Regions from separate parts of the Homo sapiens genome. Here regions 1, 2, 3, 4, 6 and 7 are each linked to region 5. Evidence: promoter capture Hi-C in 16 types of primary human blood cells and fetal thymus (Javierre and others, 2016). All regions are on one chromosome and are shown on one strand. The core of a region is centred on a gene start or on the middle of the fragment in contact, and the rest is flanking DNA. Distances in the headings are between cores, read along the strand shown. Region 1 has its middle 99 kb from the start of LINC01923. Region 2 overlaps PLCL1 (phospholipase C like 1 (inactive)). Region 3 overlaps PLCL1 (phospholipase C like 1 (inactive)). Region 4 has its middle 120 kb from the start of LINC01923. Region 5 holds the start of BOLL (boule RNA binding protein). Region 6 overlaps PLCL1 (phospholipase C like 1 (inactive)). Region 7 overlaps PLCL1 (phospholipase C like 1 (inactive)).

What was found. Contacts are between HindIII fragments. The CHiCAGO score rates a contact against its expected background, and 5 or more counts as called.
Region 1: a fragment that was not itself captured here is called in contact with the fragment with the promoter of BOLL in region 5 in 5 of 17 cell types (M1 macrophages, naive CD4 T cells, fetal thymus and 2 more); the score reaches 8.7 in M1 macrophages.
Region 2: a fragment that was not itself captured here is called in contact with the fragment with the promoter of BOLL in region 5 in 2 of 17 cell types (activated CD4 T cells and non-activated CD4 T cells); the score reaches 6.0 in activated CD4 T cells.
Region 3: a fragment that was not itself captured here is called in contact with the fragment with the promoter of BOLL in region 5 in 15 of 17 cell types (activated CD4 T cells, megakaryocytes, monocytes and 12 more); the score reaches 12.2 in activated CD4 T cells.
Region 4: a fragment that was not itself captured here is called in contact with the fragment with the promoter of BOLL in region 5 in 1 of 17 cell types (M0 macrophages); the score reaches 5.6 in M0 macrophages.
Region 6: a fragment that was not itself captured here is called in contact with the fragment with the promoter of BOLL in region 5 in 6 of 17 cell types (neutrophils, activated CD4 T cells, naive CD4 T cells and 3 more); the score reaches 8.8 in neutrophils.
Region 7: a fragment that was not itself captured here is called in contact with the fragment with the promoter of BOLL in region 5 in 5 of 17 cell types (activated CD4 T cells, non-activated CD4 T cells, neutrophils and 2 more); the score reaches 7.0 in activated CD4 T cells.

Annotation. Positions count from the first base shown.
Region 1 is chr2:198,274,436-198,278,651 of GRCh38, forward strand. No RefSeq gene overlaps it. Among named protein-coding and RNA genes, the nearest start is that of LINC01923, 99 kb to the right of the region's middle. The HindIII fragment of the contact is 5,349 bases long and covers 1-4,216 here.
Region 2 is chr2:198,108,911-198,112,959 of GRCh38, forward strand. The region is part of intron 5 of PLCL1 (phospholipase C like 1 (inactive)); the gene reads left to right. Among named protein-coding and RNA genes, the nearest start is that of LINC01923, 260 kb to the right of the region's middle. The HindIII fragment of the contact is 964 bases long and covers 1,447-2,410 here.
Region 3 is chr2:198,128,039-198,132,272 of GRCh38, forward strand. The region is part of intron 5 of PLCL1 (phospholipase C like 1 (inactive)); the gene reads left to right. Among named protein-coding and RNA genes, the nearest start is that of LINC01923, 240 kb to the right of the region's middle. The HindIII fragment of the contact is 3,910 bases long and covers 1-3,661 here.
Region 4 is chr2:198,257,096-198,261,397 of GRCh38, forward strand. No RefSeq gene overlaps it. Among named protein-coding and RNA genes, the nearest start is that of LINC01923, 120 kb to the right of the region's middle. The HindIII fragment of the contact is 1,740 bases long and covers 977-2,716 here.
Region 5 is chr2:197,782,828-197,787,045 of GRCh38, forward strand. It overlaps BOLL (boule RNA binding protein), which reads right to left and starts at 2,492. Exons shown (of 11, transcript NM_033030.6): 1 at 2,229-2,492. RefSeq lists an enhancer at 3,668-3,897. The HindIII fragment of the contact is 5,410 bases long and covers 489-4,218 here.
Region 6 is chr2:198,147,883-198,151,874 of GRCh38, forward strand. PLCL1 (phospholipase C like 1 (inactive)) reads left to right here. Exons shown (of 6, transcript NM_006226.4): 6 at 1-1,981. Among named protein-coding and RNA genes, the nearest start is that of LINC01923, 230 kb to the right of the region's middle. The HindIII fragment of the contact is 3,070 bases long and covers 350-3,419 here.
Region 7 is chr2:198,061,156-198,065,410 of GRCh38, forward strand. The region is part of intron 1 of PLCL1 (phospholipase C like 1 (inactive)); the gene reads left to right. Among named protein-coding and RNA genes, the nearest start is that of PLCL1, 260 kb to the left of the region's middle. The HindIII fragment of the contact is 2,555 bases long and covers 1,199-3,753 here.

The DNA of each region.
Region 1 (4,216 bases), core at 1,247-3,746, 490 kb after region 5:
AGATTTCAAAAATAGCCCCCAAACAACTCGTCTTGGTAGACTGAATATTCTCTGATGCCCAGAAAAAGGTAAGAGGAAATCTCGTAATTGAGAATGGCATAACATCTCTCTACTGTCTACAGAAAATGCTGGAACTACCTTACTTGTAAAGATAGAAGAATTTTTCTCTTTAGCTTCTGTCTTTGTAGCAATACCTTTTCCTCTGCCTCAACTGTTATGTTGGAGATAGCTGTGTATTTTTATGGGAGCATTTTGTGACTGTCTTCAGGTCATTATAGAACTAATCAACTAATTTCTCCCCTATACTTCCACCCTGGCCATCAAGCCTGAGTGCAAACACCTACACTAATCATAAATGTGATTCATAAAATCCTCCTAACATTGATCTATTCATGGCTATTTTTATTTTTTTACAGTGTAGTAATCATCTATAAATCCACTTCATGAAACACAACCTGGAAACCTGCAATGATCTTCATCTGAACCCCAGGTTCCAGGATCCACTCCATCTTGTCATCACCCTGCATCTCTGACATGAGATGACCATCACCTAAAATTCCTTGTTCATCAATTCCTTTTTCTGATTTTACATAGTTTTATTGCATTTATTTAGAATCTTAAAAGTTTATTTTTGAGCATAATAAGGTATGTAATTGCTTGGGATTTACTTTTTAAATATATTTCCAAGATTGATCCACATTTCTGTGTTACTACAGTTCATCCATCTTCTGTATAATATTCCACTGCATAAATATGCCATAGTGTATTCATCTTCTCTTCTGTTGATGGATACTTGGTTTACTTCCAGGTTTTGGCTCCTGTAAACAATACTTCTATGAACATTCCGGTAGACTTATTCTACTAGAAAGTTTTTCTGGATCTTTTTTATAATCTTTCAGTCTCTAGTGTCTCTTATACTAAATTCACTTGTCCCTATCCTTGTCTCATATTCCCTTGCCACTACTGTTAGATAACTATATTCTCCTTTCCAGACTCTTCTAAGAGTGGTACATAACTGCCTCTACTGTCTCTACTTCCTCAGTTTGTATTCACTCTTCAACTCGTTATCTTCTTCCAAACTACCTTTGCTGAGATTATCAATTATTTCCATATTGCCAAATCCAATGAACGTTTTTCAGCAGTCTTATTAGAGCTGCTAACCATATTTGATGCAGTTGAGCATTCCTTTTGTCTTAGTCCATTGTGTGTTGCTGTAACAGAGTACCACAAACTGGGTAATTTATAAAGAAAATAGATTTATTTCTCATAGTTTTGAAGGCTGGGAAGTTTAATATCAAGGTGCTGGCATCTGATGAGGGCCTTCTTGCTGTCTCATCCCATGGTGGGAAGGTGGAAGGACAAGAGAGCACTGGCATGAGAGAGGGTGGAGAAGAGAGCTGAACTCCTCATTTAATTAGGAAAACACTCCCATGATAACTAACCCACTTCCACAATAATGGTATTAATCCATTCATGAGGGCAGAACCCTCATGATCTAATCACCTCTTAAAGGTCTTACCTTGCAACTCTGTTGCACTGGGGATTTAATTTCCAAACTATGTTTGGGCAATTTGAGCTCTTTCTTCTTCACTTACCACCTAATGATAAATAATGGAATTTATCAGAGGTCAGTTCTAGGTCTCTTTCTCTTTTCCCTTAATACTCTCCCATAGTTATGCCTGTTGTCTCAGCAAAATTCTTAATAGCATATCCTTTTTCTCTCAGAAGTGTCCTAGTTTTGATGGTAAATTATATATGCTCCTTACTTAGAGACCAGTGGTTTCCAGCTCATCCATGACTTATTTATCAAATCTTCTACCAATTATCTTTCCTTAGCTATTTTACAGGCACCTCAAACTCAATATTTCTAAAACTGAACTTTTGCTGTTTCTTTTAACACCCATTTCTCCCAGGTCTCCATCTCAGAAAAGGGTACCTCCACCACTTACTTGCTCAAGTGCTGAACCTTGGAGACTGTTTTTATGTGTGTGTATGTGTTTGATTTTTGCTTGCTTGTTTGCTTTTTAATTTTCTGTTTCCTAGCCCATGTGTCTCCAAAACCTGTCAATTCTAACTCCATCACTGGCACTAACTCCATTGTTCCCTTTTGCCTGGGAGCTGCAAAGGGCTCTTATCTAACTTCCTGGGCTCCACTCTTCCCCAGCTTTCTCACTTCCATCTCTTCTCCTACCCTGATATTTAAAAAATATGAATCAGATCATGTCACTACCTGCTTAAAATCTTTTGATTGTTTGCCATTGCAGTAAGAATATAATCACACTGCTTTTCCAGCCTCTGAGGCTCTCTGTGCTCCTCCCATGACTGCTGGTGTAGTCTCAGCTGGGGTCATCAGCTCTTTTTCACCCCACTCGAACTGCTCCATTCTTTCCTTGCAACTAGCTCTTCCCTGTCCTAGGGCCTTGGCACATGGAAACCTCTCCCAGACATTCCCACTTTTAACTCAGATAACACTTTTTATTCTTCACATCTCAGCTTGAATATCATTTCTGCTGGAATGTGGCATCATTGGGGGAGGGGGTGAGATTTAAAAATACTTTTATTTTGAAGGAATGCATTTTATTTCCTAAATTAGATAATGTAGGTAAGCAAAAAAAAAAATCATCCACAATCCCACCACTCAAAGAAAACAAAGTTATCACTTTGGTGTCTATTTTTCCCAGTGTTTTCTTTGTCTGCATCACATAAATATCAATTGCTTAAATGACTCCAAGTCCTATAACTGGTGGGAGTCATTCTGTTCTGGGAATTTTACATGTAATTCACCCCAGGACCTCCTTTACATTGGAAAACTTTTTATTCCTCACCATATCCCCAGGGATTCTTGGAAATTGGGCAAACAGTTTTCCTGGTCACATCTTGCTTCAATTTACTGCTTCTACCGCTGTCTTGATCTCCCTTGTGTCTAGTATCTTGTGCAGATGCAGACATGGAACACAGCTCCTAGTACTTGATCCTGAGATTCCCTTTGCCAGGAGTAGAGTCGGGGGCTGGAAAATGTTACAGAAGAACACAGCATGGCTGCAACACATCTCCATTTTCAAAATTCCTTTAGCTACTTCATCCTGAGGATGTCTTGCTATACAAGAGTGAAAGCCACCTGCTGCATCACTGGGCTGGGCAGTCTCTGTCTGTCTCTGTCTCTCTGTCTCTCTGTCTCTCTGTCTCTCTGTCTCTGTCTCTCTCTCTCTCTCTCTCTCTCTCTCTCTCTCTCTCTCTCTCTCTCTCTCTCTCTCTCTCTCTCTCTCTCTCTCTCAGCTAACGATTCTCTTCACTCAGCCCTCCTCCTGCTCCAGATCCTGTGACTGTCCTTGTCGGGAACAATTCAATGTTTGGTCTATTTTGATGGTTCTTTCCAGACCATTTTCTGGAGCGTCTCGGTTGCTACACCCAAGCCTGCTTAGGCATCTTTCCTAAACAACGGGTATTTCAGGCTAGAGAGAAACCATGCCATTCCTCTGGTGGGCAGAAATAGTTCTGACTGGCTGTTGTTTTAAATAGTTTTTACCTTCTCTTCTTGGCATATAAGAAATGCTTTTCTTCTCTTCCTAAATGGTATCCTACAATATATACTATTAGAAATCTGCTTTCTTTACTTAACAATTGATGGTGAACATCTTCTATGTCAAAACATGTACAAATTTTAGATAGTAAAGTACAGCATTTCATAGACTGTGGTGGACAATATATCCTGAAGCGTTGTTAGAAATGCACATTCTCAGGCCCTGTGCCAGGCCTAATCCATGTAATTGCTACATGTTGGTCCCCAGAACGTTCACACACACTTAAAAGTTTGAGGCACAGTGGAATACAGCATTTGCATGGCCTTAATAAGAACCAAATGCAATTATTATTACTTTCATTGGAAAACCTGTAAAGGACAATTCTGGACATTTATATGGCCATTTAATTTGTGCTTTGAAGCAACTAGCTTTTCTTGTTCAATGTGACATTGATGCCAAAATGCAAAATGCTCCTTGGGTGAACAAATGGGTGTGAAAAAATATATATGTAAAGTGCTTTCCTAAAATATGATGTCTTCAATAGCTCTCCTATACTTTGGCTAAAGTAAACCACAAAGTCTATGATTTTCACATTATATTTTTATAGAAAGTAAAAATATCAGTTTAGTAGTTTTAAAAATATACAATCATCTCTTATCTTTTCAAATATTTAGTCTAAAATTCTAAATCAGATG
Region 2 (4,049 bases), core at 679-3,178, 330 kb after region 5:
AATTGGTCTCCTTACATAGCCATTGTGTTTATTTAGGATGATAGGATGATTCAGTCCTCACTACCTTTTCAAGACAATCACTGGATCAAAATAACTCCATTCCATTCCACCCTCACATGTTAAAAGACCTTTCCCTCTGTTTCTTCTCCATGATGTCCTTCTTGTGCTGATATAATAAAATACCTGAGACTGGGTAATTTATAAACAACAGAAATTTATTTCTCACAGTTCTTGGGGCTGAGAAATCCAAGATCAAGGCAGGAGTGGATTTAGTGTCTGGTGAGAGCACAGTCTCTTCTTCCAAGATGGTGACTTCTTGCTTCGTCTTTCAGAGGGGAGGAACGGTGTCTCCTCAAATGGCTGAAGGGAAAGAAAGGCAAAAGAAGGTAAAAGGGCCTAGCTAGTTCCCTCCAGCCCTTTTACAGGGCACTAATCACCTCCTAAAGGCCTTACCTCTTGATATTATTGCATTGGGGATTAAGTTCCAACATGAATTTTGGAAGGGACACAAACATTCAAACTATAGACATTTGGTTGTTAACATAATATTAAAATCTCAAAATGGAAATTTTTCCTGTTTTTTAAGGCTTTCAGAAAGGGATACTACAACTTCACTTACGTAGCCAACATATTCTAGTACATTGTTAGTAATTTTGGAAGTGTTTCACTCATGAGAGTTCTGAAGATCTCTTGGGAGCAAGATGTGGAATTACACTATATCACTGATAAAATGCTATTTGCAATGAAGTGGAATTCATCTAAAGTCTTGAACTCTATCCAGAGTGATTTGACTTTTTAAGTACAAAAAGAACTGCATTGTAAAGGTGATCACATCTATAAAACTGAAATTAGAAAGAACCCAAGGGGAGCATTTTAGTGAGCTTTCCCAATATATATTTTTCTAACTTGTCCTGTTGGCTATTTTAAGAAACTAAATTTTATTACTTTGTGTTTTTAAAAGTTTTATGTAAAAATCAATTTTAGCAGGCTGGAGAAGTATCAAGTAGAGATATATAAAAATAATATTAAAGAAATATAATTAATAAATATTTTATTACAAAGGAAAAACTATGAAGTAGGTAATCACTAGAGCTTAAAGAGAAATAAAAGGGTTAAGAAGTAGCTGCCCTTCTTATTTATTCATGACTTTCATTGATTACTTGTTGAATAACAGGCAATAAATAAAAAATGAATATAACTATTACCTCTTCAATGGTCATTCCTATTAAATATGTATTTACACTTTTCCTGGATAGATTTCCAACTTATAATTTAATGCATTCCAATGTGTGCCATGATTCTGGGCTGCTTTTATAAATTTATGTTTAGTATATGTGACTATTACTTTTCCCCATAACGCTTTTGCTTTTTATCACTACTTAAGCCTTTGCTCCTTCTGCTTTTATCTAAAACATTTTCAATTTCCGTGGGAAGAGCAGAGATTGAAGCTTCTCACTTCTCCGTGTGTAGTTATGTTTCTAACCCAGGCAGATTCCCTCACTGAATTCCCGAATTTCAGGACCTTACAGTTCTGGGGAATCTTGCTACAACAGAGGAAATTACATGGATGTCAGTGTAGAAATACGCTTTCAATTAGAGCCTGAAAACACATTTGAAGTCTCTGTTCATTGTTGAGAGACAAAAGAAAGGAAACAGATGATGGGCTAATGGGAAAAGAAGTATGAGGAGAGGCATCCATCTCTGAAAGCTGAGTGAGAGTGAGAAGTGGGCTACCCTTCACTTACTGGCCATAGATATTTAAAATCATTCTATGAGATACTGTGGAGAGGGGGCTGTTAGTGTGAATGTTCAAACCAGGCTCTTCCAACAGACATAGTGACCATGCCTTTGGGGGCTGCCTGAGGGTATATAAAGAAGGAACATGCCCAGTATCATCCACATTGTCTATTGAGAACTTTTCCAGTGGTGTCTCTGGCATCTGCCAGCTGTTGTTGCTGTAGAATCTAGAGAAAGGCTAGGATTCCTTTTGAGTATTCAGAAAAAAAAGTATATTTACAAAGTGTAGAAACAGACCTCCAAACAACAACAATAATGCATTAATAATAAACCATCCTTAATATTGATATTATTATACTATCAATTATTGAGAAACAGCAGGCAAAGTGATTAAGTGTACAGACGCTGCAGCCAGACACTTCCTAGCTCTGTGTCTTTGGGAAAATTTTGTTTTGTCTCTATGCTCTTGTATCAGTTGGGGTATGCTGGGTTGTGCTATAGTAACAAAAATCTGAAAATCTACTACAATATAACACAATGGCTTATTTCTTGCTTGTACTACATGTCCATCACAGGTAAGTAATGGTCACTCAGGAACACAGGCTAATGGGGACTCCATCCCAGCAAATACTTCTACAATCCCAGAGGTAGGGATGCAAAAATGGTCTTTAAAAGCTTCTGCCCAGTAGAGTCACATGTCCCTTCCACTCACATTTGACTGGTCAAAGCAAGCCACAGTCAAGTCTGATTTCATGGAGTAGGACAAATGTAAACCTTCTCAGGGAAGAGGAGCAGATATTGGTAAATACAATCTACCAGTGACAAGTTCTTCAACTACCCCTTATAATGTGGACTAAATGAGTAAATATATATAAAGCAGTATCTGGCACATGCTATATGAGTGTTTGTTATTTTTATTATTAAAAATGAACATTCAGTGCTTACAATAATCAAGTGATTTTTACACAACATTTTAATTACTTTTAAGGATAACCCTGTAAATTTACTCTTATTATACCCATTTTACAGATAGGGGAAATGAGGCTCAGGAGGTTAAGAACCTTCCCATTGGCATACAGGAAGTGAGTGATGGAGCAAGGATTTAACTCTAAAGGCCATGTTGTCATCCCACTATGCTATATTGTCAAAATACTGACAGCACCATAATAGTAATGGTTTGTATTAACTGAGCACTTTCTATGTATCAAGTATCCTACCAAGTGTTTTATATTTATTATTTTACTTATCTAAGGGAGTGAGTGTCCTGCCCATCTAGCATGAATATTTCAATCACCTTGACAGAATATGCCTACTGTCAGTAGTCAGTGGTTAGTGCAGAAAGCTACAGCGAGAGAGTGTATCTTGAGAATAATTTATTTACAACACTATATTTACAAAACAACTCTCTTTTCTCAATCTGGTTTCCCAGGTACACTTTTCTAGTGGAAAATAGAATGAATTGACCAAGTGGTATAACTAGTTCCATCTGCCCAGTAGTCACATTTCTCTTTGTAAGTAAATCAGTTAACTTCCTTTTTTATTTGTCCATCTCCTATGAGCTTGGTTAGCATGAATCAGCTTCCCAGGGCCTGATCACCCCTGAGCGAATGGATACAGTTGAGTCCTTGGACAGGTACGATTGGGAATCACGGAAGCAAAGCAAAACAACAACAACAATACCAAAGCAGAAGACCAGACCCAGGACCCCTGAGAGCCCAGCCAGCCTCCTCTTGTTTCTCTTGGACAGCTTTGCTATTCATTGGCTTTTAGTCTGGACATTGCTAGCTGCCATTTCTTGATGGGACAGAGGAAGTTCAAGAGCCATGCCTCTAGCAAAAACTTTACAAAGGCTATACTCCTTTCATATTCCTTCCTCATGCCCCCTCCTCCACAGCCACAGTTCTACTGTTCAGACCTACAATCTGTCCTTTATCAACTGAGGAGTTACAGCAGAATCTATTCTGTGTCTCCTCTAGGCAACATTTACTTCTTCAATTTTCATTTTGTTGTAAAGTTTATTTCAATTTTTTTGTCTATTAAACGTTTAAAAATAATGTTGGAATTTTGGCAAACAGTTACGGTTAACAGTCATGCCAGAAACATTTGGTGAACGCAACTGGGAGGGGCAAAATAGGGATGAAGCCAAAATTGAGGGTCTTATTCCAGTGGCAGCCAGTTTAGTCTCGCTCAACCTAGTAAGCCCTCAACTCACTTGGAATCTTAGCCAGCTGCTTTACAATGGATATCATTGATTACCAGGAAGAAGGTGGGTGGCAGAAGGGAGAGAATGGATGGATCACTTCTAGAAAAAC
Region 3 (4,234 bases), core at 457-2,956, 340 kb after region 5:
ACAACGATCAGTACTAGAAGTAGAGGCTTTTAGTCATTCCATTTTGTATTTTGTCTTTTTCCTTTCATTCGTAGTTCAGCCTAACTGCATTTATATTGTAAACCAAAAATAAAATTCTAAGCCCCTTAACCGACTGAATGGACCTGTCCTATGGGGACAAGGGGATTCCAAAAAATTCCAAAAAGCTAGTTCAGGCCATGATGGGAACCTGATGGTGTAACCACCCAGTTGGGTTCACCTTTCATGCTACCTAGAAAGAGCTGATTCATCTAGACAGGGGAATCGCAATAGAGAAAGAATAATTCGCACAGAGCCAGCTGTGCGGGAATCTGGAGTTTTATTATTGCTCCAATCTGTCTCCCCAGGATCAGAGTTTTTAAAGACAATTTGTGGGAGGGGAGGGGCAGTGAGTCAGGGACTGCTGATTGGCTGGGTCGGAGATGAAATTATGGAGAGGAAATCATGGGGCGTTACTGTCTTCTTGCGCTTAGTCCGTTCCTGGGTGGGCATCACAGGATCAGATGGGCCAATTTCTTGATATGGTGGTGCCAGTTGATCCGTCAAGTGCAGGGTCTGCAAAACTTCTCAAGTACTGATCTTAGGAGCAGTTTAGGGAGGGTCAGAATCTTGTAGCCTCCAGCTGCATGACTCCTAAACCATAATTTCTAATCTTGTGGCTACTGTTAGTAGTCAAGAAGGAGGTTTATTTTAGGAAAGGGATGTTATTGTTCTTGTTTTAAACCATAAACTATAAGTTCTTCCCAAAGTTAGTTCAGCCTATGCCCAGCTTGGAGGTTAGAGGCAAGATGGAGTCATTTAAGTTGGATCTCTTTCACTGTCTCAGTCATAATTTTGCAAAGGCAGTTTCAATGGTAAAAGGGAATTGGATACGCTGCATTATACTTTCCTCCCTTTGGAATTCAGGCTGAACTGATCGGCCTTAAAATTAAAACAGAGATCTTAAGACACAGTAGGCTCTTTGTAGCAATAAGATACCAAATTCCAACCTGACTCCAGTATAGCATCACATGACAGATAGCAGGCCCTGAGAAAAATCAAGTATTTTACCCCAAAATATATTTCTTTGACATATTTTTAAATGGCCCTGCAAAGCTATCTCTTGTGGGGGAAATTTACCTCCTTTAGAGAAGCCCCTTCCCTTTCCAGGTCTTTTTCTGATCCTGAAGAGTTTAGCTGAGAGTCTGGTACCTTTTAAAGGTATGAATAGGAAGCATTTGCCATCTATTGCCTCTAAGGATGGCCACCTATAAGACTTCATCTACATAATAAGACCGTTGGTCTCCAACAACACCCCTTATCTTTGCCCAGACACTCCTTTCTATTGATTCCAGGTTTTTTAGATAATAACTTAAACCCTTCAACCAATTGCCAATCAGAAAAATCTTTGAATCCACCTATGACCTGTAAGTCTCCTGCTTCGAGTTGTTCTGCCTTTCCCTACCAAACCATGATTGATGTCTTATGTCCTCCTAAAATTTAAAATATCAAACTGTAACCCAACCTCCTTGGCCACATGTTCTCAGGACCTCCTGAGGCTGTGTCACAGGTCATGGTCCTCACATTTGGCTCAGAATAAATCTCTTCAAATATTTTACAGAATTTGGCTTGCTTTTTTCATCAACAATATGTATACAAACGGGCTTTTCTAAAGGACTTTCAGCCCTCCTTCAGCTCATCTCCTTCCTCTTTCTATCTCCTCGCCTACATAGTCAAACTTCTTAACAGGGTTGTTTATACTTGCCGAATCCACTTCCTTACCTCCCACTCACTTCTTAGCCAACTTTAATCTTTCTTCTTCCCCGACACTCCATTAAATCATTCTCACCAAGGTCACCAATAACCACCTTGTCACAAAATCTCATGGACACTTTTCCAGTTTTTATCTTTTTTGACTAGTTGGGAACATTCTACGTGGCTAAGCACTCCCTACTTTTTATTTTTTTTAATTTTTTTGAGACAGGGTCTTGCTCTGTCACCCAGGCTGGACTGTGGTGGCATGATCATGGCTCACTGCAGCCTCAACCTGCTGGGCTCAAGCAATCCTCCTGCTTCAGCCTCCCAAGTAGCTGGGACTACATGCACATGCCACCACACCCTGCTAATTTTATGTTTTGTAGAGATAGAATATTGTGATATTTCCCAGGCTGACTCCCCACTTCTTGCAACACTGCTTCTCTTGATTTCTGGGACACCACCCCCTTCTCTCTTCTTCCTACATCTCTGACTCTTTCTTCCCAGAATCGTTTGCAGGTTCCCTTTCCTCTGCTATTCTGTTAAATGCTGGTATTTCTTAGGGTTCTAGCTTAGGCTATCTTCTCACTCCACCTTCTGTCCCTGGGGGACACAGTTCATGCAAAGGGTTTTGATTATCTTCACCATGCTGTCAAATCTCAAGTGTGTATTTTTGGCCCAGGTGTCACTCTCTTTATCTCTTGATGATCCCTGCTCATCCTCCCATATAGTTTATATATCAAATTACCTCCCAGGCATTGTACCTGGGAGGTCACTCAGCCACAGCAAGGTCGGCATGTCTCCAGCTGTGCTTATCCCTATCCATATGTCCTGCTTATCCTCAGTGACACCTCTGGAATTCCTGCTTGAATGAATAAATGACAACTCAGAGTTATCCAAACCTAAATCCTGGGGGTTATCCTTGATCCTTTTCTTAACTCTCCACCTCTAATTGGTTAGCAAGCACCGTTGGGTCAACCTCCTTAATACCTCCCTAGGAAACTTCCATTCCCATAGCCGTCACCTTAGTTATCTTCATTTATCACCTGAGTTAGTGAAAAGTCATTTCTCCTCTATCCTTTTCCCACTCCATAGCATAGAGCTGGAGTGATCTTTTTGAATGTAAAGCTGGTCATGGCCATTCTCCCTTCCTAAAGCCCTTCCAGGGCTTCCCACAGCTCCTTCTTAACTTCTCTTCTGAAACTCATTGTGGCCTGTCTTCTCAGCTCCCCTCCTTCCCCTCCAGCTTCGTCTCTCATTGCCTTCTTCTTCCATGCACTACTCCAGCCACATGGAACTTTCTCCACTTCCTCAGTGGCACCAGGGATGCTTTCATGCTGAGTAGTCACATGGACTGTCCCTTCTTCCTTGAAAGTGTGTAACCCTGCTTGTACCCCTGCTCCCTGGGAGCCCCCATCCTGTTGTTTTCACACTGCATGGGGCACTGTTATCTGTACTTCAGGTGTTTGCTCAGGTACGGAGTCTTCAGGATGCCTTCATGGACACCTCACCTTCTCCTGCCTCCCATCTTCAACAGAGTTAGGTATCCCTGTACGTATTCCCACAGAACTCTGCTATTCCACTATCATAGCACTTTAATTGCTTTTTTATCTTTCACGAGACAGTCTCTATTATTGTAAGCAATTAGGTGATGAATTTTAACATAGCAATTTTAACCTGAGCCCCAATTAATAAACAGTAGACATTTAGCATATGAGGTCAAATCAAAGAACGTCTCGTCAAATCCCCATGTTTTGGAGAAAAGGAAACTGCTGCCCACAGGAGTTAGGGACATTTCCAAAGTCACAAAGTCAATTCATAACTTATTAATCATTCTTCCCACTGCAGACATCAGCCATAACCCCTATTCTTTCTATCCTTTTGACTGATTCTGGTTTTCTCTGCAAGAAGCTTGAAAGCCTTAGCCAGGACATGGTTTAAACTCTATTTTGCCTTGGTTATCAAGCAATCAAATGGTGTGGTTAAAATTGTAGCAAGCCTGTCATTTCTCATTTAAAATAAAACGGGACTCATTCAGGCTTCTTGAAGTGAGACTGCATGTGACGATGCAGGGAACACATCTCCTAGAAAGAAGAGGAGCCACTGAATGGGCAGCCTCATGGAATCTCAGGCTAGAAGATCCTTCACATTTGAAGCAGGCTTTAGAGGACTGTGTTATCTTTTCCTTTTCCATTTCCCCTTTCCTTGCCTTAAGAGCAAGAATTGTAGATTTTCACTCTAGTGCTGTGGGCTTACAGGGGCTCAGCTCTGCTGGTCTTTTATTCCTCTCTATATTTTCTAGCACTTCATTCTGTTCACAACCAACTAAGACTCTTAGAATTTTTCAGTTTCAGTCTCAGAAAGAGTTAATCCAATTGGTTTGTCTAATTGCTGTCATTACTGCCTGGCATCAGGACATCTCATAGGTCACTGGTCAGCTACTGATTGGCCACACTTGGGCTGTGGTGAATCCTTGGTCCAA
Region 4 (4,302 bases), core at 597-3,096, 470 kb after region 5:
TTAGCACTTAATTCTATATGTTAGAGTACTTTGAGTTTCACATAAAGAAAATGTAATTAAACTGGCTTTAATAATGAAGGAGTTACATGGTTTACATAACTAGAGGTTGCACGGCAGAGGTTTGATCCAGGCTGTCTCCGTGTCTATGTTTCTTTTGGCTCTGTCCTTCATGTGTTGACTACATTCTTGTACTGACTTCTCCCAGGTAGTCAAATGGCTGTAGCAGCCTCGGGTGTCCCAGTGATACACCATATTGTCCAGAACAAGAGAGGGGTTCCCTTTTACCCTAGTCACCAAATAGAAATCCTGCACATTACACTGATGGAAATGGTCACTGTGGCCAGGCAGATGAGAATATAGTTATGAAACTTTGTGTCCATCCCTGGAGCTGAATTTTGGGCTAGTTCCTCTAAACCATGGCTCCTACTTAATTGGGAACAAATGAAAAGGATTCTGAGAAGTTCTAGGTTTCAAAGTTCTCCCAAGTCAAAATCTCAGAAAGAAGAAAAACAGTCACTCAGGATCCATATATTCGATATCACAGTGTGACCCCCTACTTCGGGGTTTGATCTTGTTTGATCCTTGGATCAATTGCAGTATGGAATATCATAATTGGGAAGCCAAGGACTGGATCATTTGCTCACTCTTGTGGCCAGATGTCAGGAAAGATCCTATAATTATAATTGACACTTACTCCCATATCACATGGATCAGGAAAGAACATTTTTCCTGGTGGAAAGAGGGAGCCTAATGGATAAGAACAGTAGATGCTCATACTACCTTATATTTGAATTCTGCTCTGCAACAAGGAGCTATTATCTCCCAGCAATAATACCACATCCTCAGGTATTAATTTTTAAGAACAGAATCATAATAACACACTAGTGTATTATTAAAATACTGTGAGAACAATACATAGAACTTATGTCTAAACATATCTAACAACAAATATTGTTTGGATATATTATACATTATAAGCTTGCTGAGTATATTCCATGAATCATTTTATGGTATACATGTTCCCTAACATGTGTCCAGATTTTAGTTCTTAGCACAATGTCCCACACCACCCTTTTCTTCCCCTACAACATAAAAAATCATTAGAGAATCAAGAGACAGAAGCTGGCCTCATTTCATTCCTGTAAGAATTTCTCTTTGCTTAGTAGAAAGGGTGAGCATCATGCAGGCTCTAGCCATTGGTTCACATTGACCAACCTCCAGAGATCCTTACTGAGTGGGTTTAGGGTGGAGACCAGGCTTTTGAAAAGCTCCCCCAGGTAATCCTGATAATTAGTATTTTTGCAAACCATTAAAAATGGATGCATTATTTTCTCCTCACAAGATATTTATAGCCCAGTTCACAGGTGACAGTGCTGGTCTCTTCAGCCTGGGAAGTTAGTGAGTCTTCTATGGAAGACATTTAGAAAATTCCTTTTTGATGGGGTCTTGAGCTTCCTAACGTCACCAGGTGACCGTTTCTGTTTCTGATGGAAATGGGTTTTACTAGCGGATAATGGAGATGGACTATTCTCTGCCTGGGTTTATTCACATCTGTGTCCCCTTCCAAGACAAGATCTATGTGAAGAAGGAACATTTGTGACTTTGGCTAAGTTCCTACCTATGCCTCCTTCTTGGTTTAGGAACCATGCTCATCTTCTTCCTGTGTTTCTAAAAAGAAGGCTGCTCTCCCCTGTGTTCCTGATAGAGTAGTGGGATGTTATAATGGGGCCACAGTTTCTGTCCCTTGGAAATCAATAAAGGGGTCAGAGCTACTCCCATCTCCTTACCTGGAACACTGCCCAGGTAGGTTTGTGTCCACACAGGCTTGGCTACAAGCCATGGGCAATTCCTCTGTCCTCTGCCCAACAGGAGTGATCAGGCCAATTCTAAAGCTCAGGATTCCATAGGGCAGCGGTCTTGGCACCAGGGATAGTTTTCATGGAAGACATTTTTTCTATGGACTTGTGGGAGGAGGGGGTGGTGGAGATGGTTTCAGGATGATTCAAGAGCATTACGTTTATCATTAGATTCTCATAAGGAGTGCCAACCTAGATCCCTCGCATGCACAGTTCACAATAGGATGCGTATTTCTATGAGAATCTAATGCCTCTGCTGATCTGACAGGAGGCAGAGCTCAGGCAGTAATGCTCACTTGTGTGCCACTCACATCATGCTGTGCAGTCTGGTTCCTAAGAGGCCATGAACTGGTTGGGGACCCCTGCAATGGTTGAATGGATTCTGCCTTCCAGGAAAGGGCAGGGCTGAGGGAGAATGAGTAGGATTTAGATCAGCACTATCCAACAGAAATACAATGCAAGCCACAAATGTGAGCCACATAGGTAATTTTACATCTTCTAATAACCACATTAAAAAAGTAAACAAATACAACTTGACATTGAATTTGATAGAGATTAAGAGGAAAGTGCAGTGTTTTTTTTGACTGATCTCTTTTTTGATGACCTACAATTTTTGCTTCACTTTGATCAAGTAAAGGAAAAATAATCAAGAAAGGTCTGGTCTGATGAAGAAAGGAGGCAAATCTTTGTTTGGTAAATGCTGAGACAGAGCCGCATACCCATCACACGGAGCGCAGAGAGGGAAATAGACTGTCCATTGTTCCTATTGCTTATACTGAAGGGCACTGTGGGATGATTCACTAGTGAATTGGAAGTACAAGGAAAAGAAGTGAGTTATTAATATATAGATCTGAAAGTTAAGCTTCATAAAGCTTTGTCTTATAGATATGTCTAAAGTGTGAGAGATTAAATAGCAGTTGGAAGGTTATGTGTTTGTATTATCAGGGAATGGTCAGATAAAAAATACTTGTCAGCTCAAAGTGACATTGAAGATTTTTTTAAGGATTTAAATCTACACACACATAGAGCAGCAGCCTCCTTGCACAGTTACAATTAGAAATCACAAGCTTTGTGATATTATCCTTGTCACAGTTTTTTTGGAGATAAAATGAATGTCTAGGTTTGTGTAAATTAGGGTTCTCAACAAAGACTTGCATGAATTGAATAGCTAACCTCAACTAAAATTGAAATATTGAGCATGATAGTGATTCACACATGTACAAATTAAAATACACTTAGTTTAGTAATGATGGCTACATTTCCAAGTGTAATTGAAAATGAACATGAACAATGTACCTTTACCCACGTGAACAAAGGGTTGGCAAAACATGTTAGGTATTTCCTAAATCAAACTAAAATTTCCAAAAGCTATCTGCCTTGTTCAGGGAGAATATGCAAATGCATCATGTTCAAGATTTATTGTAAAAGGTACTATGAGATGAAAGGAAATTGAATGCTGAGCCTTCACATGATAAATTTTTTTTGCATCTCTTTTAGTTGTCTTATAGGCTTATGTAGATTGGGAAATGTAGAAGAATAATAAACCTATAATAAATGATAATTTAAAAAGAAAAACATTTCCCTGAGTTATAAAGAGAAGAGAATAATAATAATAAAGTTAAAGAAATGGTACATTACGAATTTGAATTTTTCCCAATGGCCAATAACTAGAGTGCTAGCTACTGTGAATGGCATTTTACTTTTTTTAAAAAATTAAATAATTAAATTAAATTCATTTTTGCAAAGATGGAGTCTATCTCTGTTGCCAAGCCTGGTCTCAAGCTCCTGGACTCAAGGGATCCTCCTGCCTCAGCCTCCCAAGGTATTGGGATTACAGGCATGAGCCACTGCATATGGCCAACATTTTTCTTTAAATAAACACCTATGTGGTATGAAACATCATCCTTTTTTAATAGCTGCGATTGAACTGTTTGGTTCATAACAGATGCAGACACTCTGAGGTGCCCCCTCCATTTTCTGCCAACCCCTAGATTTGCTATAGCTGAGGTATTTGTGATCAGAAGGTGGATGCTCCTCTCTTATTCTATCCCAAGCTCTGGTACAGATGGTATGTCTGTAGCATATAGTACTAGCTTTTATTCATGGGAAATATTTCATTTTTCATTCTCACTCAAAATATTTACTGAGCACCTATATGGGTCAGGAGCCATTCTAGGTACTAAAGGATACAAAGATGAATAAGATGAAATCCTATACTTGAGAAGTCGACAGTCTACTTGAGGGTAAAACAGGCTATAGCTACAATGTGAGGTGAAAAGTGTAATAGCAAAGGACTTTGGAAAACATTTTATACCAGTCAGCATCAACCATCGTTCTTACTGGAATACTTTAGTTGATAGTATCATGTTTTTTCAGTATTCCATTCTAAAACCCCATGTGCATTAAGCTGTACTAGTTCTGCGGTCCCCAACCTTTTTGGCACCAG
Region 5 (4,218 bases), core at 1,242-3,741:
ATTTTGTTAAAAAATTATATACTTGTAGCTCATAAATGTTTATTCCAAAGAATTAGCTCAGTACATATCCACATGTTCACAATTCTAAGTTAGAGGACATAATTTAAATTTTAATAAATATATATAAATGTATAAGCCTTTGCAGAATGGTAAGATAATAGACTTTTAAGGTATAACTGAAAAAAAACCCAAGACTTGAGAATCACATTGAAGAGAAACCAATTCAAGAACTGGTGAATTATTTTCCATCTGGAAACACTAAACACACTTCTGAGACAAACCCCATAATATCCTAAAGACAAACCCCATAATATCCTAAATGTGTGCTTCAAAAAACTTGAAGTAAACTGGGTGTTGTGGCTTGTGCCTGTAATCCCAGCTGCTTGGGAGGCTGAGGCAGGAGGATTGCTTGAGATCAGGAGTTCGAGACCAGCCTGGGCAACAAAGAAAGACCCCATCTCAAAAAGAAAGAAAAAGAAAATAACAAAAGCTTGAAGTTCATAATTCCAATTCTCTGAGAAACAAACTCATGAAAATGAATCTCCAGCTCAGGTAATAAAGTTGTTCTTTTTCAAATTTGTTCTGCTCTTTCTTCTCTGGCCAATACAATCACAATCCCTAAATTAATCTTTGCAAGATGTACAGAGAAATGACTAGGGCAGGAGTGGCAATTGGGCTATAGGCTGGACCTTATGGGCTCTCTTCCCCATCCAGCCTTAAGGAAGTATGTACTCCTAATAAGGGAATATGTAAATACTTCTTTTAAAACACAGAAAAGCCACCACATTTAATAATTACTATGTTGTAGTTTCCAATGAAAGAAACTGGGAATCTAATCTTAACAGCTTTCTCTCTGGGCACTTGGAGGTTATTTGTGACTTCAGTCACTTCGCTCAGTAGGATATAATGCTCAGAATGGGTAATTCTGGAATGCTTAGTATTTTTCAACTATGGATTTTGTATTGCTAGAGATAATATAACAGCTCTAGTAGATGTAATCTTGTCTTTCTGCCCATTTGTTTACAGTGTCAAAATTACCTATTTGCTAAATTTAAAAAATCATTCTTCATGAAATTCTCTTATTGAAAATAAGATGTACTAATATGTTCGCAAGTTTAAGTAAAAGACAAACCCCATTATATTTCATTGAGAGAAGGATGAAATGAACGGAAGTAAACAGTGCTTTATTTCCAATCTCGAGAAACTAAAGGATACTCCCTGAGAAAAGAAAAACAACCTTTCACACTCAATTCACTTCATTCTCCTCCACTCTCTAAGGCTCTATTGTGGGCTCGCTCTGCTTAAGTTTTCTCCCTCATCATTTTCTAACATACGATATAGTTTACTTAGTATGTTTATTATCTGTCTCCACTATTATGTAATGCACCAGGGCAGAAGTTTTGCTTTTTTCATGGCAGCATCTAAAGTACTGACAGTACACAGCAGGTGCTCAATAAATATCTGTTGAATGACTAAAAGTGAATCATTTCTTCAGGAGAGACCTGCTCATGATATGCCAAATAGGCTGAAGGCTAAAGAATACAGTATAACAGCAGTCTAATACATATATATATATATATATATATATATATATATATATATATATATATATATATATATATTTGAGACAGTCTTGCTCTGTCGCCAGGCTGGAGTGCAGTGGCGTGATTTCGGCTCACTGCAACCTCCGCCTCCCTGGTTCAAGAGATTCTCCTGCCTCAGCCTCCTGAGTAGCTGAGACTACAGGTGCGCACCACCACGCCCAGCTAATTTTTTTGTATTAGTAGAGATGGGTTTTCACCATTTTGGCCAGGATGGTCTCGATCTCCTGACCTCGTGATCCGCCCACCTTGGCCTCCCAAAGTGCTGGGATTACAGGCGGGAGCCATCGCGCCAGGCCTACAAAATATTTTAATGTTAGCAATAGCAAGGCTCAGGTGGAGGCAACATCTAAGTTCATTATAAACAATTAGCGATGCATTGAGTTAAACAACAAAGAAAGCCTGAAATTCCACTAGCAATAATTCCGCATGTGTTACGGAAACACCTAGATGGGGACTGTTGCCGGGTTTGAAGGCTCCTCCGTTTGCTAAAACTTCCAGCACTAGAGAGTTTATTAAACTACTCCTCCAAAGCAATGTGCCCTCACTGGCCCCTCCCCTTGAGAATCAACCTCGAGATCTAGCATCTATTTTGCAAACGAAGACAGCAGGAACGGGCGGGCTAACCGTCGCAGTCACTGCCTCGGCGCTCCTCCCCCTCCAAGGCCAGCAAGTTGCGGCACTGGGGGAAATGGCCGCGGCGACAACTTCCTCGAGTTCTCTCGGGTCATCGTGAACTTGGGCACCGAAACGAGGATCCACCCCCTCCCCACCAAAGTGCGGGAGGGAAAAGAAGGCTAGCCAGCGAGAAATTTTGCCCCACAAATCCGCCAGCAGCAGTGGCGGGAAGCCTCAACGGCAGCGACCCCGCCGCTGGCCTCGTGCGCAGCTGGTCCCCACCCTCGCGCGGCGCTCCCTGATTGGCTGCTGGCGGCGGGACGGGGCGGGGCGGGATGGCACGTTGCCGCTGCGCCTCGGGCCTGTGCGGGCAGTCCTCCTTCACTTCCCCAAGTCCACCCTGACTGGCTTGGGTGCACAGCCAGGGCTAGAGTGTCCGGGTCCCGCCTGGGCCACAGGCGGGCCCTGCCAGGTCTCTCAGACCTTCCGGTCCTCGCTGACCAGTCGGGGAGTGGAGGCGTCGACCGCCCTGGCAACTCCTCGCCTTGGGCGGCTGGGTCGAGTTCGGCCGCAGGGAGCGTCAAAGACGCTGCCTAGCCCAATTTCGGCGGGAAAGCGGTTTACCTGCTCGGACTTCGCTGGGTGCCTGGCAGCCCGCCGCCTCCCGAAACATCCACGCCTGAGGTCCCCTGGCCCGTCTACACCCAGTCCAGGCCCCGTGGCGGCGCCTTTCTGACCCCCATGACACAGCCAGACGAGGTCTGCGGGCGGGTGGCTCCTGGCAGCGGTCGATGGGGCACCTGGCCACGTTTCTTCCCAACCAGATAGCGAGCGTTTGGGGCCTTCACCTCGCCCCTCCAAGCCCTCAGGGACAGGCTCCACGCTGCTCCTTCTCCCCGCTATCCCGCGCCCTGGGGCCCTGATCGCCGTACTCACCGGCCCGGACTCGGTTTCCATCTTCCTCTCTGCTCTTCAGAGACGCGGGGTAGGGAAAAGAAGCCTAAAGTTTGAAACCACCTTCACGCCAAGGCAGCAGCGCTGCTTGTCCTGCCTGGGACTCTCGCCCCCTGGCGGCGAGGGTGGCTGTGGCAGCTGCAGGGAAGCAGGCTCGGACCCCGGCCCTGAACCTGCCACCTGGCGGGTGGGGAGAAGCGGACTGCGTCGCCTCGGGTGGCAGGTGGCGGTGCGGGCGGGCGCTGCAAGCCGGAGAGGGGCGCGGGAGGGCGAGTTTCGGCTGTGGCCCTGGGACTCCGAGCCGGGGCGTCTCAGGGGCAGAGCGCACGGCACAGCGGGGCGGGCGTGGGGCGTGCGGAGCGAGGGCTCGGTTCTGGGACCCCTCTCGCCTTCTCTCAGACGGCTGGGGAGGAGAGAGCGAGCGGTCAGGCAAAGCTCCATGCACGCCTTCCCCTCTCCTCCACTTGAGAAGAGTCGGCCTCTGGGACTGGTGGGTTTCGAGAGGTTGAGGTGACCTTAAGGCTTTACTGAGGTAGAAGAAGCCGGTTGACGGGCGACTTCCGAAGACTGGTGTAAAGCGAAGAAGGTTCTAGAGTCAAACTCTGACTCTCGGGGCCTGACTCGCAAAACTCGGGGGCTCCCGAGAAGCCGCGGACGCCGCTCTGCACCTGTTGCCGCCGTCACTCATCCCGCCAGGCGGGCGGGGCCGCGCGGGTGGCTTGGTCAGGACCTGCCATTCAGCCCAGTCGGGCTCCGGTGCTCGCCCCGGACGGCGCCCCAAGCGGGTCCCGGCCCCGCTGAGCACCTCCAGCAGTGGCACAGCCTCTGGAGGGGTCCGGGACGAAGCCACCCGCGCGGTAGGGGGCGACTTAGCGGTTTCAGCCTCCAACAGCCTTGGGATCGCCTTTGGAAGAAGATTGCGCTTTTTTTCTTAAATTAATGAATTAATTTACTAATTATTTTTATTTTTGAGACGGAGTCTCGCACTGTCGCCCGGGCTGGAGTGCAGTGGCGCGATCTCGGCTCACTGCAACCTCCGCCTTCC
Region 6 (3,992 bases), core at 635-3,134, 360 kb after region 5:
TGTTTGGATGTAATTTAGGGTACTAAATTTAAATTTAAAGATATTGTTCAAACAATATCATATCATCACATTGAGCTGATATAAATTCTGTGGGTCCGATAATATCTTTGTGATAATTTAAGAGCTAACCAGTTACCACACATCTATGATATAACCCTAACACACACAGAAAAGCATACATGCAAAAAGAAATGACTAATTAGGGTACATTTATAATTGCATCTAGGTAATTTTTACCCTAATGTCTTCATAAAGTACTTGAGTGTAATGTTTGTTACCTCCAACAGAACTAAATGTTCTATGGTTATGAAAGAATATATTTATTTAAAGCATTGCTTTTATTTTGAAAAGCTTCTTAATTAATTTGATTAACAAATATGCTAATTTGGGGAAACCTAGAGAAGATAATTGTTGAAATTTTGCAAATATAAACATCTCCTATAGCTTCTGTGTTATTTCTGACTTCTTAACACTATTATGTTTATGTTGCACATTACTGAAAGAGTAAAGATATGAAAAAAACACTTATTGTTTTCTTTTATTGTGAATTGAAAAAGCAAAGCTAATGAAAATGGGTTACTACATCAAAAATATCTTAAAGAGTTTGCTATTTCCATGGACCAGATATGATGAAATTATTCCCTGGGTTTAAAACTGGGCACTCGAGGAGGAGGTACCTGAAGTCATTTGAAGGCAAGTTTCCAATGATGCTACAATGGCCTGAAAAAATTTCTTTACCCTCTGTTATATTTAACTTGCTGGTAGGAGGAATAGTGGAATGCAGGTGTTAAGCCCTTTGTGGTGAAAAAGAGGTTCTATAGACAGAAACAAAACCCACCTTACATCAGCTGATTGGTTGATTTTACTAGTGTACCTCTTCATCTACTTGAATTCTATTTGGTAAATCCATGTCTTTACTGGATATACAGTTAGGTGGGAAGAGGAGATAAAGGATGACAAACTCTCAAACAATATTTATACATTTATTTACTCCAGGGTCAAATCCAATCCTTGGAAGTAGCTTCTCTAGTTTATTTTATTTGTCCCAGAGCTCTACTCACACTTAGGACCCACCCAAAAATTCTCAAAAACGTAATATGGATTCTGCCTCATCTGATGCTATTTCTGGCAGTGGGTTGTCAGCCATACTCTGCTTCATTCCACTGGGTGTCCTTGCTAGATGGGGAGTGAGATGTGGAGCAGGGAGGAGCTTTGGATTCTGGGAGTGGAGGTGGCAAGGGAAAAGTCTCCTAGTCTCCTGTGATGTTCCTGCCTCCAGATAGAATAGCAAAAACAAACAATTTTTTTTTGTGTATTATGCCTCCATGACATTGTTACATTCTATGAGGAGCATCTGTCTCCTTTCTAGACTTGAACTGTGGTAGAAAAAGCCCCCTTCTCTCTTCTATCTACTTAGATTTGGTGATGCTAGGAATGTAGTGTTTTAGATATTAATTCTATTTTTATTTATTCATTTTTACATCACCAATAGGATCTGAGGTGGAGATGGCGGGTATTATCACTGGCATTTTACAGGTGAGAAAGCCCAAAGCCACTGAGGTAATTAATGGAATAATTGATTTTGAACTTGGGTCTGTCTGATTTCATGTGCAAGATTATATACTTAGTGATTTTGATTTTAAGTTTATTCTTAACATTTTAAACCAGACTATTAACTCTTACCTTTATAACCACAGATACAAAGAACTGTATCATTTATTTTCTGAATATAAAATATTAATGGTCAATATAAAAATACAAAAATAGAGAACTATATACAACAGAAAAGCAAAATTACCCACTAATAACATTTTGATTTATATCCCTTTAGACACTGTTTAGAGTTTATACATATATGTAAATATGCTTGTATTTTAACAAAATTGAGATATTATATAAACTGTTTGTAGCAGGGTGTTTAAAATTTTAACAATATGTTATGGATATCTTTCTGTGTCAATAAATGTGTATTTACATTAGAGTTCCAAGCATTTGAACTGAATCTAGTCCAAAAATGATGTGTTTTATTTGGCCATTGAACATTTTTTAAAAAAATCTTTAAGCAATAGACAGCTTTTGAAATTCAGAAAATGTTACGTACAATTCAATGTCCTGCATGTTTTAAAATACTGGATAATCTAACAACACAGAACACCTCCCACTCCCCACCTCACAACCACCACACATATACTTTCTTGCTTGGCATCAGTTAATTGAAACTGCCCTCTCCAAAAGGGGCATATGCTGTCCAATTTTCTAGAGAGCCTTTTCATTCATTTATGTTACATCTGGACCTTAAGGACATGATAGGTGGTGAAACTTGATGAAAATTATCATTTATTGAGAGGCCAAAATGAGAGAATTGCTTGAGGCTGGGAATTGAGACTAGCCTGGGAAACATAGTAAGACCTTGTCTTTAAAAAATAAAAAAAAATTAATGGTCATTTATAATAATTATACAGTATCTTATTATATGGCTTACCAGAATATATTTAACCAATCTCCTATTGCTAGATTTTACTCACCTAATTTCTTGTTATATAAACATTCCAATAATAAAATCCATTTTTGCAAAGTTGTTCAACTTTTTCTTTGGGATACATTTCTAGAAGTGGAATTGTTGGGTCAAAGGATACAGAGATTTTTTGTTTTGTTTCATTTTTGTTTTTTAGGGATTTTGAGATACATTGCCAAATAGTCTCAGGAAAACTTGTTCAATTTAAAACCCCACCAGGAGTTTATGAGAGTGCTTAAATCTTTGCTAATGATAAATTTAATTTTTCTTATTTTCATCTTTGCCAATCTTCTAAGTTACAAAAATCTTATTTCTCTTTATCTTTAATCTCTAATGAGATTGGATGCATATTAATATGTTCATTGACTCTAAATAATCTAATTAAAAGTAAAAACTTTTGTACTCCAAAGGATACTACCAAGAAAGTGAAAATAGAACCCACAGAACAGGTTTGCAGGTCATATATCTGATAGAGACTGGCAACCAAAATTTATAAAGAACTATTACAACTTAATAAAAAGAAAACCAAATTTTTAAAAACTGGTCAAAGGATTGGAATAGACTTTTCTTCCAAGAAAATATGCAAACAGGAAATAAGCACATAGAAACGTGCTGAAGATCGTTAACCACTAAGATCACATAAATCATAGCCACAATTAGATATGACTTCACACCAAATAGGTTGGCTATAATAAAAAAGACAGATAATAACAAGTGTTAGTGAGGATGTGGAGAAATTGGAACCATCCTACCCTGCTGGTGGAAATGTAAAATATTTCAGCTGCTTTGGAAAACAGCTTGGCACTTCCTCAAAAGGTTAAAAAAACATGGAGTTACCATATGACCCAGCAATTCTACTCTTAGATTTCTACCCAAGAGAAATGAAAATATATGTCCACACAAAAGCTTGTACACAAATGTTTGTGGCAGCATTTTTTATAATAGTCAAAAGTAGAAACAATCCAAATGTCTATCAACTCATGAAAGGATAAATAAAAATTACATATTCATACATTGGATTGTTCAACAATAAAAGAAATGAAGTACTGATACATGCTACAAGAGTATACCTTGAAAGCATTATTCTAAGTGAAGGAAATCAGGCACAAAGGCCACATGTTGTACCGTTCCATTTTTATAAAATATCCAGAATAGGCAAATCAGTAGAGATAGAAAGTAGACTAATGGTTGCCAGTGGCTGTGGGGGTCTGGGAGTGACTGCTAATGGGTATGAGTTTTCTTATTGGTGTGATGAAAATGTTCTGGAATTAGAAATAATGATGATGTTTGTTTACATAATTTGTGAATGTACTAAAAGCTATTTAATTGTATATTTTAAAGAGTGAATTTTATGGTATGTAAATTATCTCAGTAAAAGGGTTATAAAAGGAGAAATAAAAAGAATTTAAACAATGAACAGGGTATTAGAGAATAGTGAAATAGCTTCAAGAATCTAATATGTATGAAACTGGAGAGA
Region 7 (4,255 bases), core at 1,226-3,725, 280 kb after region 5:
TAGGAACTCAGTGTGTGGGAGTGAAAGTAATGATTACTGAAAGCCACTGATCATGGTGGGAGTAGGGGTGTGTTATAAAGATGTGAACATTTTATCTAAAACGTGCACTCTGTTAATTAGTAACTTTCAATACATTTATATCTTACCGATACAATTTCTATTGTTTCTTGAACACTAGGAAATGCTTGAGGTGTGAATATTGTTTTCCAGTGTGATTTGTACTACCTACACATTATAAAGGGATGTTAACCGTTCGAATCCTCTTTAACGGCCCCCAGCAGTGAAGGAGGGTGGGCAGGGAGAGGAACAGCTGTTGCCTAAGAGGGGAAGGAAGGGAGGGAAGGGGAACTAGAGAAGCTGGCTTCATTGGTATATGATCTGGGATAATGGGAAGCACTGATTTAGGAATTATCAAATCATTCCTCCATTGCAAATGTATCGTCATTATTATTATTATTATTTTGAGACAAGTCTCGCTCTGTCGCCCAGGCTGGAGTGCAATGGCACCATCTCGGTTTACTGCAACTTCCACCTCCCGGGTTCAAGCAATTCTTCTGCCTCAGCCTCCTGAGTAGCTGGGATTACAGGCATGTGCCACCACACCTGGCTAATTTTTTGTATGTTTAGTAGAGATGGGGTTTCACCGTGTCAGCCAGGATGGTCTCGAACTCCTGACCTCATGATCTGCCTGCCTCAGCCTCCCAAAGTGCTGGGATTACAGGTGTGAGCCACTGAGCCTGGCTGCAAATGTATTATAAGGGTCAATAGGTACGTTGATTCTTACTTTTTCCTCCATACACATTACACAATACTGAGAAGAAATGTATTCCATCCTGTCTAGCACGGCAGTGGTTGGACTTTAATAAATGACGGCTCCCTTCCTCTTCATCTGAGTACATTGAACTGCTACAATTCATTAGTCAGAAATTTGAATTGTTTAGGACATGGTAAGATTCTGGAGCCTAATTCCAGGAAATAAAGTGAAATTCAAAGGAAGCCCCAGACTGCTCCAAATCTGCCCTTCAAATTATTTGTCTCATTTACACGTTATTTTTTTGAAATGGCAAAGATTATCCTTTCTGATAAATTTTGTGCATTAAAAGACAAGTTTTATCTATTCTAGGGGAGCTCCAAATTTATACAAGACAATTGTGATAAATTTTTTCTTAAAGGAAGAAATCCTTTATTATGCAAATAAAGCTTCTTTATTAACTTCTGTATATTTGAATGGAGGTTGGACTTTTCTCAGTTACCTACAATTTATACGTAACTCAATTATATATACTTCTCTAGAACTGCTTATGTAAAATAATATTTCTTAACACATTTAAAGTGGTGACTCCCTATTATATTGCAATACCCTTCCTCTTTTTTTCTGAACTAACAATGGAATTAAAATTCAAGTGCTGAAAAAACACGGTTTCAGTATCCTTATATTCTTAACATGGAGCCATCATATAATTAAATGCAATGTCTAGTTTTTTTCATAAGTGTATGAAGTTGAATATTCTGATTTGGTGCAGTGTTTTCAAATTTTCCTGACCATAAGAATCACTTGGGGGTGAGCCTAGGGTATCATTTGTTAAAAAAAATAAATTCCTGGCCTCCCCCCTTTAACCTACTGAATCAGATGTGTAGAACCTGGGAATATACTAAGTCAATGAGCTATCTCAGGTGATTCTTATAATCAGGTAAGTTTGGGACCAATGATGTAATGCAGTAAAACTTAAGGGTGTATCAGAATCACCCTTGTCTTATTAAAACCCAAAATTTCTGAACCCCACCCCCAGATCCAGTGGGTGTAGAGTCTGAAAGTCTGCAATTTTTAACAAGGTCCTTGGTGATGCTGTTGCTGGCAGTCCAAAGATCACACTGTGGGGACCACTGATGTAGTGGAAAGAATGTAGTCTTGAGATGAGACACATCTGGGTTCCAGTCTCATTTAATAGCTGGAAATTTTTTAGTATAGTTACTTAATACTATACTAAGTACTTAATACTATACTTTACTGAGTTTTTTCCTCTTTATTTTCAATTTTTTAAAATATCCTTAAATAAATTTATACACTCATACATATATATTATGCTTGGGTTTAAATGCTACCTTGAATAAATATGGAGCACAGATGGAAACCGAGAAGAAGGAGGCAGAAATGAGAGCAAGGAGGAGGCTGATAAGTAGGTTCAAGGGAGAGTGAGTGGTCTGCACAGTAATAACTGTGTCCTAGAATAACCAGAACCCAGCAAAACAACATAATCAGAAGCAAACTCAAAGTGAATGTATTAAAAGTCAAGCTAACTGTTTACTTTGCAAGGAGAAGAGAAAGGTCACTTGGCTGTACAAGTATGATAGCATTGATTAATTTGAATGCTTTGTCTGAATCATTACTGTTGAGATTCTGAAAGTTCAGATACTGAAAAGAGGAAAATAATGTTGACATGGAGAAACCAATCATGTGAGAGCTGTTTTTCATGTCAGTGAGGATAAAATGATTGCTACCTGCTCTTTTTACACACATGACTAATGACATATTTGTAAACTTAGTTTTCTAAGAAAGAAACATAGCCATCATATTTAGGGTTCATACCATTATTTAAATTTGTATACTGTGTTCCATCAGCTTTTCATGGGAAGTATTTTTATCCTCTCTGATGATTTGAAATAGAAAAGCCAATTTGGGTGTAAAATCCAATGTTCAGGCAGAAGCCTTATGTGGAGATAGTGTTCCCACAGAATTGAACTCCTGGAGTACTGGTTAAGAGCAAGTACTCCAGGAGTCAGATATCTGGGTTCCAATCTTGCTTTCACCTCTTAGGGCCCGTTCTGTTGCCATAGGAATGTTCAATAAGCTAGTAATCATTATAGTACATAGCTATGGGATTTCTACAAACTTTTATTCAACAAGTATTTATTGACTGCTTGAGAGGTGCCAGGCATGGTGGCAGGTACTGGGGATATCCACTCTCAGGGAGCTCTGGGAGACAGGCAAGAAACCTGTGAATAAGAAAGTTCATATAATAATAGTAGGTGTTAAGGATGGAGCAATTAACAAAACTAAAACATAAGTCCCTAGTCCTCCAAGTTCCATTATAGTGCCTTATATCCTAGTTTGTTTACCTTCCATAAGCTCATCAAAAGTCAAATGTGACTTAGATTTACTGACTAGGTTACTATTTTATTCATCAGATTGAGCTCCTTAATTCGGGAATTTAACAGAGGTTAGTTTGCAACTTAAAAAAATCTTCATTTCTATCCTGTCTTAGGCATTAATAGATTTTGTCCATATTACCAGTGCAAATAACAGTGAACTTTATGTTTTTATTCTCTATTTGATATGCTTGTAATTTAAGGCTTAGCCACAATTAAAATGTTCACTTTATAATCTATTAGAAATTCTATATAATTTAATAATTTTCATTTTGTTGAGGTCAAATTTAACTACAAAATCTAGGAAGCTATTGATTCCCACTAACCGCACCATTGTTATAGTCTTAGTATGTTTGAAAATTTAAGTAAAATTTGTTTCCAGGGCCAAAAGGAGAGTACTATTTTAGTTTTGTGGAACTTTGCCAAAATTGTATTAATTATTAACTGTGATTCATTTATGACTGTACTTCTTCTATAGGATTTTAACTAATTTAAAGCAAAGACTGAATGAAAGTCTTTATGTTTTGCAGACAAGAGAGCACCCATTTATCCTCAGCAAATGAATTGTTGGAGCAAATAATTTCAGTGGACCGTTTGGTATAGGGAAGCTTATGGAGACAGAAGCTTGTGGAGACAGAAAATTCAAGGGATTAGGATTTTTGAAATACAGAATAAGACTGAGGGGCAGCTAAGATTTATGTAGTCTTCAAGAACATAGACTATGCAAATACACAAACCTACATTCTGTAGACTGCATTGTAGGGAATAATGGACACACTCAACATCCTCTAAGATTAGGATAGAGAGAAAAGCTCCACTCTATTTGAAGGAAGGGAAATTTTTAGCAAATCAGAATAATATTAATCTAAGTTTTTCATTTTCTTTGGTGGTAGTCCTTTCTGGATTGGTTTAGTTGCCACCTTGCCAGAATACTTTAGGAAACTTCTTTAAAAAAACTTCTTTAGTCCAAGGGGTACTCTCAATCCAGGATGAGTAAGGCTTTCAACTTTCCAGACCAAATAAATAAGTCAGAAAGCTTTTCAAGTCTAAATAACTTAATTCTTCTTACAGAATTCTCTCCACCAATTGCTTGATAAATGTCAATTCA